3 separate regions of the Homo sapiens genome follow, and regions 1 and 2 are each linked to region 3. The links are contacts of gene promoters, found by promoter capture Hi-C in blood cells and fetal thymus (Javierre and others, 2016). All regions are on one chromosome and are shown on one strand. The core of a region is centred on a gene start or on the middle of the fragment in contact, and the rest is flanking DNA. Distances in the headings are between cores, read along the strand shown.

Region 1 (4,274 bases), core at 1,013-3,512, 360 kb after region 3:
ACTCCTCCCCTTTACTCTAGTTCTAGCTGTACAGAAAAAAAGCCACCATCACCCAGCAGGATCGTCTTTTTTTTTTTAATTTAAAAAAAAATTTAGGGACAAGGTCTTGCTCCGTCACGCAGGCTGGAGTGTAGTGGCATGATTATAGCTGACTCCAGCCTCAAACTCCTGGGTTTAAGTGATCCTCCCACTTCAGCCTCCCAAAGGGTTGGGGTTTACAGGCATGAGCCACCACGCCCAGCCACCCAGCAGAAGAATCTCATCAAACCCTCCAGCATGCTGGAGAGTGTCAAGGAGGCCTCCCCTGAGGACATGAGTCCCTCCCCTGTGACTGTGCCCGGACTGAGGGTCTTTGATGGCTACAGAGTTTCACGGTGTCCCTACAGAGTTGGTCAGCTCAGGAACCCCCAGGTAAGGACTGGCAGGCAGAGGGGCTGCTCCCTACTGTGCACAGCACTACAGAAAGTGTGGATGGAGGATGAGCTGCTATTCAGTGCTGAAGCTTGAAGCTCACACTGGCTCCCACAGCTTCTTCTGCCATCCCATCACCTTATTCCATGCAATCCAATGTATGTATTTTCCTGGGATTTCTCTAGTTATTCAGAGCAGAAGGACCAGCCTCAAGGAGTTCAAGTAGAGGTCAGTCTCATGGGGGCCAGACAGGCCGAGCTGGCCACCACTCACTCGCTTCCCTCCCAGTACAAGACTCAGACCCGCATGACCATGATTGAGATGTCTCGGGTGCCCTCGAGCCACCCCCCCCAGGAGCCAAATTCTTCCCAAGAGTCCATTATCCCGGGGACAGCTGTCTTGTGATCCTGTTCCCTGGAGAACACAGGCACGGAACAAGCCCTGATCCCCTTCGGTGACGACTCAGTAGTGTGCACAGCCAGGAAACCACAGAAGACAGGCAGAACCAGTTCTCCAGCTGTAGCTACAAGTTAACTATAAAAAGACCCCTGGGTCCACAGGGCAGGGCTACTCGGCTGGCTCTGGCCCAGGCTCTTGGGCACAATTCTGGCCACAGACGGGAAGCACAGAGAAGATAACCAATGGTGTCACAAACAGGTTTTCCAAGATTTCAATCTGGGAGACAGGACACTTCATCCAGGCTTCCGGTTTCAAAATTGGAAGACAAATGTCCTAAGGGGTCTTGTCAGTTTTGTATACTGGCACACAGCCATGATTTACAGAAACAGGACTTTTGGTCTCTCACCCTGGAAGACAAGAGGAACTAATCAAAATGGGCCAAAGGACCAGAAACTTCCAGTGGACATCACACTTGGACAGATGAGAGCTTAGAAAGCAGCTCAATTGCTGTGACCAAAGTTCGGCTCCCCCCTCAGTGACAGTCCTCCTGGGAAGGAAGGTAAGAGACTCAAGGAGCCTCTGGGGTCCTGCTGGGACTTCCCAGGCCAGGGCTGTGCTCCAGTGGCAGCTATCCTGAGGCCAGGGACATTGAGGGGAACCTCTAAACAATGGAAACAGCCAAAGAGATGATGAGCGTAGGTCCAAGTGCAGCCAGGCAGCCTGAAAAGAGAAAGGGAAGGTGGAGTTCTCAGGGACAGGCTTCAGAGGAAGAGGAGGGTTTAAATGAGTCTCTTCAGTAGGGCCAAAGCAAGTTCATTTCCCAAGGGCTAAAAGTCTGCCATGTTTTTATGAGTTGTTTGGGTTAAACCTGGGTCATGTTGACCTAGATACATCTCCAAGAAACACCAGATATGGGAATCTTAATAAGAAAGAATGAGCAACATGGTTGTGATCTTCCAACAGAAATACAGTGCAAGAGGCCGGGTGCGGTGGCTCACGCTTGTAATCCCAGCACTTTGGGAGGCCGAGGCGGGTGGATCATGAGGTCAGGAGTTCAAGACCAGCTTGGCCAACATGGTGAAACCCTGTCTCTACTAAAAATACAAAAATTAGCCGGGCGTGATGGTGGGCGCCTGTAATCCTAGCTACTTGGGAGGCTGAGGCAGAGAACTGCTTGAACCCAGGAGGCGGAGGTTGCAGTGAGCCAAGATCGCACCACTGCTCTCCAGCCTGGGCGACAGAGCGAGACTCCATCTCCCCTTCCCCCCTCCCCCTAAAAAAGAAATACAGTGCAAGAAAGTCCAGTTTTTTTCTCATAACAATGTTCTGCTTAAGTTTGGAGAAAATATGCATTTTCTTAAGCTTGAAATAAAGTTTGGCTACTTTTGGATGGGGTCTTTGTGTCATTCCTACGTCAGACACCAATCTATACTGTTGCCAGGAGGATGGCGACATGATTGATGGGAAAAGGAAAAACTTCACACAGGTGACTCCTTAGAGCAGGGAGCAAAGCAGTGACGCCTGTCAGAGGCAGAAGCTTCCCTGGCAGGACTAATGACATTTACAGTCCTCATTGAGAGAAACAAGAGAAAAGGCACATGGAAACTATACTATGAATGGAAAATGGCTATAACCACAGATGCAGACAGGATTTTAAAGTAATGGCTATTGTGAATAACTTTGTGCCAATACATTTGAAAATACAGTTGAAATGAACAAAGTCCTAGAAAAAGAAATTACCAGTATTGACTCAAGAAAAAGCAAAGACCCTAAATAGTCATATAATTATAAATTTTTTGTTAGTAATAAAATATCTTCCGTTCAAACCAAACTCTAGGCCTAGATGACTTCATCAGCAAGATCTATCAAATATTCAAGAAGCAATAGTTCTAATTTTACACAAACTCTTTCAGAGAATTAAGAAAAAGAGGCTCCACTCTTGTTAGAAGGCAAACATAACCTTGAAACCAAAACCTGTCAAGGACATTATGAGAAAGAAAATTATAAGCCAACTTCACTTGTAGGCAGAGATTCAGAAATCCCAAACAGAATACTAGCAATATGTAAAAAAGATAATACATGGTGACTGGACTGGGCACGGTGGCTCACGCCTGTAATCCCAGCACTTTGGGAGGCTGAGGCGGGTGGATCACCTGAGGTCAGGAGTTCAAGACCAGCCTGGCCAACATGGCGAAATCCAGTCTCTACTAAAAATACAAAAAATTAGCTGGGCCTGGTGGCGTGCACCTATAATCCCAGCTACTCGGGAGGGTCAGGCAGGAGAATCGTTTGAACCCAGGAGGTGGAGGTTGCAGTGAGCCGAGATTGTGCCACTGCACTCCAGCCTGGGAGACAGAGCGAGATGCTGTCTCAAAAAAAACCAAACAAAAGGAAAAAAAAAGATAATACATGGTGACCAAGATGTGTTTATCTCAGGAGTGCAAAGTTAGTTTAATAATATAAAATCATTTATTGTAATTAACCAAATTAATGTTAAAGAAGAAAAATTACATGATCAGCAGGGCATGGTGGCTCATGTCAGTAAGCCTAGCACTTTGGGAGGCTAAGGCAGGCAGATTGCTTGAACTCAGGAGTTTGAGACCAGCCTGGTTAACATGGTGAAACCTCATCTCTACAAATAATAGACACACACACACACACACACACACACACACACACACACACACACAAATTGCCGGTGGTGGCACATGCCTGTCATCCCAGCTACTTGGGGAGCTGAGGCAAGAGGATCGCTTGAGCCCAGGAGGTTGAGGCTGCAGTGAGCTGAGATCATGCCACTGCACTCCAGCCTGGGTGATAAAGCGAGACCCTGTCTCAAAAAAAATTAAAAAAAATACCAATTACATGATCACCACAATAAGCACAGAAAAAGCACTGGATAAAATTCAATATCCATTCATGATTACAAAGAAAAGTCAGGAGCCTAGGAATTAAAATGAACTTCCTTAGCAAAGGATTTATTAAAATAGTTATAGCATCATCATATTTAATGACAAAAAGTTGAAAGCATCCCCTGGAGATCATAAACAAGAAAAGGCCAGCGCAGTGGCTCACGCCTGTAATCCCAGCACTTTGGGAGGCTGAGGCGGGTGGATCAGTTGAGGCCAGGTGTTCGAGACCAGCCTGGCCAACATGGTGAAACCCCGCCTCTACTAAAAATACAAAAGTTAGCTGGACGTGGTGGCACACGCCTGTAATCCCAGCTACTTGGGAGGCTGAGGCAGGAGAATCACTTGAACCCGGGGGGTGGAGGTTGCAGTGAGCCGAGATCTCGCCACTGCACTCCAGCCTAGGTGACAGATTGAGACTGTCTGAAAAAAAAAAAAAAAGAGAAAGAAAGAGAAACTGTAAAAAAAGGAAAAGGAAGGAAGCTGTACCTCTACTTCACACCATTACAAAAATCAATTTTACACAGATTGAAAACCTAAATATGAAGGGCAAAA
Region 2 (4,400 bases), core at 775-3,274, 380 kb after region 3:
CTAGCCTTGTGCTGTAGTTTTGTTTCATCACGTCCAGTTCTCCACTCTACACCTGCAACATAGATCAGACAGCTCCTGGCTCAAAATCCTCTGAGGGCTTCTCATCTTAGAATAAACTCTCGGTTCTGGCCGGGTGCGGTGGCTTACGCCTGTAGTCCCAGCACTTTGGGAGTCCGAGGCGGGCGGATCACTTGAACTCAGGAGTTTGAGACCAGCCTGGGCAACATGGTGAACTCCCATCTCTATCAAAAATACAAAAACTTAGCCAGGCGTGGTGGTTCGCATCTGTGGTCCCAGCTACTTAGGACGCTGAGGAGGGAGGATCGCTTGAGCTCAGGGTGGACGTTGCAGTGAGCCAAGATTGCGCCACTGCACTGCAGCCTGGGTGACAGAATGAGACCCCATCCCCACCCCCCCCAAAAAAGAATGAACTCCCAGTTCTCATAGTGGCCCCAGCTGCCTTTCCAATCACATTCCCTACCACTCTCCAGCAACACTGACTTCCTCGTTAGTCCCCAACATGCCAGGCATAGTCTCTCCTCATGTCCTTTGAACTTGCCTGGAATGTTCTTTCCCCAGATATTCATATGAGGGAGTAAAATGAGGGTGAAAACCAGCAGATATCTAAATAGCACCCCCTTCACTTAGTTTATCTTTCTCAAAGCCCTTATCACTATGTGAAATGATATATTATACTTATTTGTATGCTAGTATGAATCTTCCCGGCAAGAATGTTAGTTTGCTGTCTGTTCAGTACCGTGCATCCAGAGCCTGGAAGAGTGCCTGGCACATAGCAGGTAGTCAATAAATGAATGGGGGCAAGCAGCCAAATCAGAATCAGGTTTTCTTGCTAAGCATAGAACTAACAGAAGGATCATTGAATGGATTGGATAATGACTGGCATCAGGGTAAGGTCCCCTTAACAAACACTCCTGTCCTGAACACCTGGTTAGCTAACAGTTTTCTCATACTCTTATTTTCCCAAAACACAATTGCTGGATCTCAGCTCCAAATCAACTCTTCTAGGAAAGTGAAAAATTGCTGGATCTCAGCTCCCAAATCATATCTTCCAGGCAGAGCTAACATTGCCCCTTATTCACACCTCCACCAAACCATCTGATCCAACAGTGACAGGTGTCACGAGGCCTTGGCATGCACTCTCTTCCCCCGCCAGAGTTCTGCGAAAGCCAGGGTTGCGATTTGTTGTCAGTTTATTCCCCGCCTCTATGAGAGTGTGAGCACTGGGCAGGCTCGGATGAAATAATGCATTGAGTAGGCCTCTGAAACCAAGGCCCCTCAGCTGGGGCAACGTCAGGCTCCAGGGTGGGCAACTTTGCTGCTTCTGCCGAAGATAGTGATATTGAGAAAATGTGGGTGCAATGAAACGCTTATTGCAGCGCACTCGGTGCATCTGTGGACAGAGGGTCAATCGCCCCTCAGAGCAGCGCAAACAGGCGTCCCAAGCCTAGGCCTTCACTTGCCCCAGCATCCGCAAGGGTCCATTAATCCTTAACATTCAAATTCCGCCCACTAAACCAGTCCCTCCGCGCCCAAGCCGCCTCTTTTCCCCAAACGACGGCCGAAAGCAGCCAATCAACAGCTGGAGGGGTCCGCCCCCTTTTCCCTGGCCGAAATGGACAGGAAATCTCGCCAATTGACGGCATCGCCGCTGAGACTCCCCCCTCCCCCGTCCTCCCCGTCCCAGCCCGGCCATCACAGCCAATGACGGGCGGGCTCGCAGCGGCGCCGAGGGCGGGGCGCGGGCGCGCAGGTGCAGCAGCGCGCGGGCCGGCCAAGAGGGCGGGGCGCGACGTCGGCCGTGCGGGGTCCCGGCGTCGGCGGCGCGCGCGCTCCCTCCTCTCGGAGAGAGGGCTGTGGTAAAAGCCGTCCGGAAAATGGCCGCCGCCGCCGCCGCCGCGCCGAGCGGAGGAGGAGGAGGAGGCGAGGAGGAGAGACTGTGAGTGGGACCGCCGTGGCCGCGGGCGGGGACCCTTGCCGGGGGGCGGGGGTCAGGGGCGGGACGTGGCGCGGGAGGGGCCCGCGGGGTCGGACGACACGGCTGGCGGATGGCGTCCCTCCTCTCTACCCTCCCCCTCCCGCCGCCGCCGGTGGCGACTCTCCCCTCGGCCCGTCACCCCTGCTCGCGGGTGACCGTCCTCGGCGCGGCCTCCCTGGAGCCGCCTTCGCCTGACGCCCCTCTTCCTCCCGCCCTCGACGCGCATCCCGGCCCCCGGCCCCGCGGGCGCCCCTGTCGCCGGGGCTTCGCCTGTCGGGGCTGCGCGCGCTCCTGCCCTTCTCGGGGCTTTGGGCCGCGGCGCCGTCGCGCGCCCGCGGCCCCGGCCTCTCCCTGGATCGCGCTCTCCCCCTCCCTCCCTCGCGCGCCCCCTCTCCCGTTACTCGGCCCCCCCACCGGCGCGCGTGCGCACTTCGCCTCCCGTCGGGAGAGTGCGCCACAAGGGCTCCTGAGCTCTCACCCCCATCTCTGGGCTTTGCCTCCCCCTCCTTCTCGCCCATTCCATGAATTTCTGCCCCCCGCTACCCCCCCGCGAGCGAGTAGGTCCACCGGCTCCTTTCCCCATCTAGCAGGAACAAGTAGGTGGGGATTATTATCCACAAAAGGGACTAGACATTGTGTTCTGGGTCCCACAACTCATCATAAAGAGGTGGTTATAGTTCCCATCAGGAGCCGTGGGTAGGGGACTGTGCGTCCAGCAGCACCCGAGGCTCTTCGGCGCCAGAGGCTCTAAGGTGCGAGCGTGTCCCCAGGGTGCTCAGAGGTTCTTTGGAGTGCTGTGGCCTCGGAATGTGAGCACCCTCCCATCCTACCCTCCCCTTCGCCGGCGATCTTCCAGTTACATAAGTGGAGTGGGACATAGTAGGTAACGGGCTCTCATCGCCCTGGAGCGCTCGGGATCACCGGTACCAGATGGGGCAAGTTCATCGCGACGCTGTGGCTCCTGTTAATTGTGCCTGAAAGGTTATCCTCTGTTCAGTTTGGTCATGACCGAATCACCCAAACTGAAACTCAGATGACTTTTATATGGCAGTGGCAATGTTTCTGTGGTTTTGCACTAAAGACTTAAGGTCATTATGAAGAGTGTAAAAGGATTGCTGTCGCAGGGGAGACCGTTTATGACATTGCTAAGTATGGACCCCGAGGGGGAAAAAGCTCATTCTGGAATTGCTCTGTGGCGGTTGCTTCTGTTGCGAGTGTGTTCGGGTGTGGGTTGGTCACAGCAGAAATGGGCTCCACCACAAAATTGATATTCCTGACTCATGGTCAGGCAGATGTGTGCTTCTGGTTATTTTTCCAGGAACAGGAATGGGCTCTGCCGAGCCTTTCACACGTTGTGTCTCTGCTGTGCGGGATCAGTACCCCAGACTGTGAGATAACAGGATCGAATTCAGGGGTTGGTTGGTGATCCAGGAACCATACCTACTTGGATGTGATACTGAGTGGCCTAGACGTTGTAGGACTCTCATAAGTTTTAGACATTTTGTTATACTGTAAAAATGAAGCATATACGGCCTCAGTAGTAACATTGCACTAATAGGTAATTATTACTCTAGAGAATTTTGGGTTCCATGGCTGGAATGTTCATCAGTATCTCAGCAATTTCAGTTAATAACCAGATTAAGCTGACCTCTTGAGTCTTTTGAAATCTGCTGGGTCCCTATAATAAGACAGGGTCTGGATTTTTTAATCTTTTGGGAATTTCCACCAAGGATTTAGGGAAATAGGCTTTTATGGGCTTTTCAGGATTTCTATTTCAAATCCCAATGAGGAAGTCTAGGAAACACTTGCTTTTATTTTCTTGCCTGAATATGTCAGAACCTTAAATCACCCAATCAATCTAGAAGTACTACAGTTGATTAAAGTAAGTCACCACAGGTCACCCATTCGTGGCAGGTCAGCTAGGTGGCTGATCACTGGAATACAGTCATATCCCCAGGCATACACACGAGCCTCACTTGACGATCCCAAAGTTTGTACATCTGAGCTTGAGACGTGACAAGTTGAGGTCTCTGCTTTGTTCTTCATAGTTGGCAGTTTGTCTCCTCGGGTGCCCCTCCGGTTAGCTGTTTATCATACGTCTAGCCCTATCAACAGTGCAGGCAGCTTCCAGAGTATAGTTTTCTCTGCAAAGTGCCTGGTGGAGGGGTACCTCCTTTTCCATTGTCCTAATGGCTCCACTGGGCTTCCATACCAGCCCTTTCCAGTGTCTTAACAGCTCAAAGAAACCCATCTGTGGCTTTCTTGTTAGCACTGGCCTATCACACCTTCCTATTGCCTGTTAACTAAAATTTTGCCTGGAATGCTTTAAGCTTAGAGTACTGGGTCTTTGTTTCACCCGATTGATAGGAGAGTGTCATGCAGTCAGCCGAACTCCGACTTCTGT
Region 3 (3,957 bases), core at 172-2,671:
TTTATTTATTCATTTTTTATTTTTATTATTTTTCTTTTTGAGACAGTCTCCCTCTGTCGCCCAGGCTGGAGTGCAGTGGCGTGATGTCGGCTCACCACAACCTCCACCTCCCGGGTTCAAGTGATTCTTCTGTCCCAGCCTCCCGAATAGCTGGGACTACAGGCGCACACCACGACACGCAGCTAATTTTTGTTATTTTTAGTAGGGCCGGGGGTTTCACCATGTTGGCCAGGATGGTGTTGAACTCCTGACTTCAAGTGATCCACCCGCCTCGGCCTCCCAAAGTACTGGGATTATAGGCGTGAGCCACCGTGCCCGGACTGATGTCACTTTAAATACTTTTTTTTTTATTGTAAATGTCATAAAAGACCACTTCGGAAAAATTGGAGGGAAAACACAAAAAGGAAATTAAAGTCACCCACCATACTATTAGCAGAGATCATGAGGATTTACCTGACGCTGTATTGTTCTAGGATTTCTCTACATATGTACAGTAAGAGACTAAGTTGGCATTTTCTTTTATTTTTTGAGGCGGGGTCTGGCTCTATCAACCAGGCTGGAGTGCGGTGGGGCGATCACGGCTAACTGCAGCCTCTGCCTCCCGGGCTCAGGCTGTCCTCCCATCTCAGCCTCCCTAGTAGCTGGGACCACAGGTGTGCACCATCACACCCAGCTAATTTTTGTATTTTTTGTAGAGGCAGGGTTTCACTATGTTGCCCAGGCTGGTGTCGAACTCCCGGGCTCAAGCAATCAACCCTCCTCAGCCTCCAAGAAGCTATGACTACAGGCACGCTCCACCACTCCCAGCTAACTTTTAAAATTTATTTTTGTATTTTTTGTAGAGACGGGGTCTCACTATGTTGCCTGTGTTTGTCTTGAACTCCTGGGCTCAAGTGATCCTCCTCCCTTGGCCTTCCAAAGTGCTGGGATTCCAAGCGGGGGCCACTTTGCCTGGCCTAAACTGGCATTTTCATACTCATAGTTGTGCAGTCTGATTTTTCACGTTATATTAGACCTAGACCCACCGCCAGTACTTTCATTCAAGGCCCTGTCATTTTTCGCCTCCGTGCAGGCCTCCTGCTGACAGGCTCCCCCGCTCTGCACAGCCCACCCGCTCTAAAATGCTTCCTCTAAAATGCACATCCGATGCTTCACAGTCCATGGTGAAGCCCCGTTGGTTGGGCACTGGGGTTGAGGGCAAGAGCAGTATCCTTGGGGGTTACCCGACCCGGCCACCCTCCCTCTGCGAATCGCAACATGGACGTTGTGCCACATCTCCTGGGGCTCTTGGGTCCAGGTAAGAAACGGGGCGGGAAGCCGTCCAGGCACCGCAGGGCCTCACTGGGGCCTCCAGGGACAAGGGGGAAGGCCCCGCCAGCGCAGGCGCGCTAAGGTCACAAGGCGCGCTTAGGGGCGGAGCCTCGCGGGGTGCGCCTCTGGGATAGGCGACCACGGTGTCTTCAAAAGCCCCGTCAGGGTTGGCTTCCTGGGGCCGGACCGACTGTGGGTCAGTTTGCACCAGCGCTCTGGAATCGAGTTACGCGCGAAAGGGCAGAGTTTCTGGAGGAAACCGCAGCCTCTCAACCGCTGACCGGGTCTCAGAAGGCCCCCGGCAGGGCCGCTTGGCGGGAACTGACCACGCGCCAGTCAGGCTCTCCAGGGACCTGCGCAGGCGCGTGTGGGCGGAGTCGTGCGCAGGGGGCGGGGCTTCGGGAAGGAGCCACAGAGAGGGCGGGGCGTAGGACCTGCGCTTCGGGGGTGGAGTCGGAGCGGCGCGGCGGCGGTCATGCGGGACGCGGATGCAGACGCAGGCGGAGGCGCTGACGGCGGGGATGGCCGGGGTGGCCACAGCTGCCGCGGGGGCGTGGACACAGCCGCAGCTCCGGCCGGTGGAGCTCCCCCAGCGCACGCGCCAGGTCCGGGCAGAGACGCCGCGTCTGCGGCCAGGGGGTCACGAATGCGGCCGCACATATTGTATCCTTTCCGAGCTGGGGGCTGCTTGCGGCGGAGCGAGGGCTGGACTCGGGGAGAAGGAAAGGAGGGCGGGCGGGGGGCCGACGGAAAGGGTAGCAGGGGGGGACCGGGGCTGGCGTATACGGTCAGAGGTGGTCGGAGGAGGGGAAGACATTGAAATGGAGGGAGAAGCTCTGCTAACGGTGGCCTGGGCGAGGTAAGGAGTGAAGGGGGTGACACTAGGCAGGGTGACCTGAGAGGGGGCTTCAGAGGAGCAAGAAGGCCTGAGACATAGGCAAGATCGTATCAGATGGCACCTTAACCGAATGACCCCCAGCACCCTCAGCGTGCCTTTCCCGACCCCCTTGGAGGCGGAAATCGCCCATGGGTCCCTGGCACCAGATGCCGAGCCCCACCAAAGGGTGGTTGGGAAGGATCTCACAGTGAGTGGCAGGATCCTGGTCGTGTAAGTTCTGAAAGGGACGGGGTTGGGGGAGGCGGCCCATGGAGACATGGGGGACATCCAAGGATGAGCCCTAAGGAGCGCCAGGTGCGCTGGGCCGGTCTCTGCCTGAGGGGCTGTGTAATGGCAGGGCTCCCAAGGGTTTGCTATATTGGGTGCCTGAGGGGCAGAGCGAGGGACCAGGAGTTGCCACCTCCAATTTGATTTTCTTTTCCCCTCACTTTTAGCCGCTGGAAAGCTGAAGACTGTCGCCTGCTCCGAATTTCCGTCATCAACTTTCTTGACCAGCTTTCCCTGGTGGTGCGGACCATGCAGCGCTTTGGGCCCCCCGTTTCCCGCTAAGCCTGGCCTGGGCAAATGGAGCGAGGTCCCACTTTGCGTCTCCTTGTAGGCAGTGCGTCCATCCTTCCCTAGGGCAGGAATTCCCACAGTTGCTACTTTCCTGGGAGGGCCTCATGTTTTATCTGGTTCTTAAATGTTTGTTACTACAGAAAATAAAACTGCGCTACTATTCCAAGTCTGAGTTTATTTGCAGCTGGGGCACCTCCCAATATTCTTGTTGTGCTTGGGTTGCTGGGGGGGGGGTTCTAGAATTCAGATATTCAAGGAGTACAAGGAAATTGAAGACAATTTAGGAAATGGAAGAAAATGAAAATCAATTGGGTTCTGTCATTCAGGATTAACTACTGTCAACATTTTGGAATACTTCCTCAGTTTTACAGTTGCACTTACATAGTAAATGTGTAACTGTAATATACACCACATAATATTTGCAAGTTTAGTGTTAAATTTTTTTCCTGATTTTTAAATCTAACATGAGCTTTTTTCCTCTAACGATCAGTGAAGAAAGTGCTGGGGCAATTGACTAGTGTCTGGGGCAAGGAGTTGGCTCCCTGGAAAATACAGTGTCTCCAGCCTTAGGGCTCTTTTATAGATTCTATCAGATTTTCTGAGAGTGAAAAGGAAGAGGTACAACTGCTTTTATTCTCAGAAAACAAGGAAATGGTTTGATCCTTTTGAGTCTTGCTTTGAAGATGTGCTGTGTGGGACCAGAGCAGCTCTTAACTGTAGGCTTGTTTCCCTCTATGGAGGCAACAAACACCATTCTGGGCACCCTGGCCAGTGCTGCCTAGGTGAACATGAGCTTCTCTATCCTGGTGGGTGGGGACAGCTGCTAGTCCCTGTCCTGCTTGCACACTGGAGTTACCGTTCATCCTCTCCTGCTGGGGTGATGGCCTTCCCTGGTCTTGGGTAGCTTCCTCACACGCCTGTGCTCACCAGTAGTCGTAGTCCGCTGCACACTGGAACGGGAGCCTCTGTGGATATCCAGGGTTCTTTCCCTGTGCAGCTCTCTTCTCTCTGGTTCTCCGCCCTGCAAACTCCAGCTGCTGGGACGCTCTGAATCAGTTTCAACTCCTAAAGTCCGGGTGTCTGCCAGGCTCCACCAGGAAACTCCACACAGGACACTGGGCCAGTCGCATGGCTTACCTTGTTTCCCAGCTCCCACACGTCGCTGTCCCTCACTGGCCCACAGCCAGTTT

Evidence for each region. The method cuts DNA at HindIII sites, captures the fragments that hold promoters and counts their contacts. A CHiCAGO score of 5 or more calls a contact.
Region 1: a contact is called between a fragment that was not itself captured here and the fragment with the promoter of LAGE3 in region 3, in 1 of 17 cell types (activated CD4 T cells). The highest score is 5.1, in activated CD4 T cells.
Region 2: a contact is called between a fragment that was not itself captured here and the fragment with the promoter of LAGE3 in region 3, in 3 of 17 cell types (fetal thymus, activated CD4 T cells and naive CD8 T cells). The highest score is 7.1, in fetal thymus.

Annotation. Positions count from the first base shown.
Region 1 is chrX:154,118,749-154,123,022 of GRCh38, reverse strand. No RefSeq gene overlaps it. Among named protein-coding and RNA genes, the nearest start is that of MECP2, 23 kb to the right of the region's middle. The HindIII fragment of the contact is 175 bases long and covers 2,175-2,349 here.
Region 2 is chrX:154,095,161-154,099,560 of GRCh38, reverse strand. MECP2 (methyl-CpG binding protein 2) reads left to right here and starts at 1,844. Exons shown (of 3, transcript NM_001110792.2): 1 at 1,844-1,957. The coding sequence starts at 1,896. RefSeq lists silencers at 1,559-1,918, 2,004-2,242, 2,219-2,278, 2,339-2,418 and an enhancer at 2,739-2,828. The HindIII fragment of the contact is 4,609 bases long and covers 1-4,328 here.
Region 3 is chrX:154,476,745-154,480,701 of GRCh38, reverse strand. It overlaps LAGE3 (L antigen family member 3), which reads left to right and starts at 1,421. Exons shown (of 3, transcript NM_006014.5): 1 at 1,421-1,974; 2 at 2,291-2,419; 3 at 2,644-2,927. The coding sequence starts at 1,787. The coding sequence ends at 2,758. It overlaps PLXNA3 (plexin A3), which reads right to left. Exons shown (of 33, transcript NM_017514.5): 33 at 2,923-3,957. RefSeq lists an enhancer at 1,047-1,546 and a silencer at 1,808-2,027. The HindIII fragment of the contact is 14,076 bases long and covers 1-3,957 here.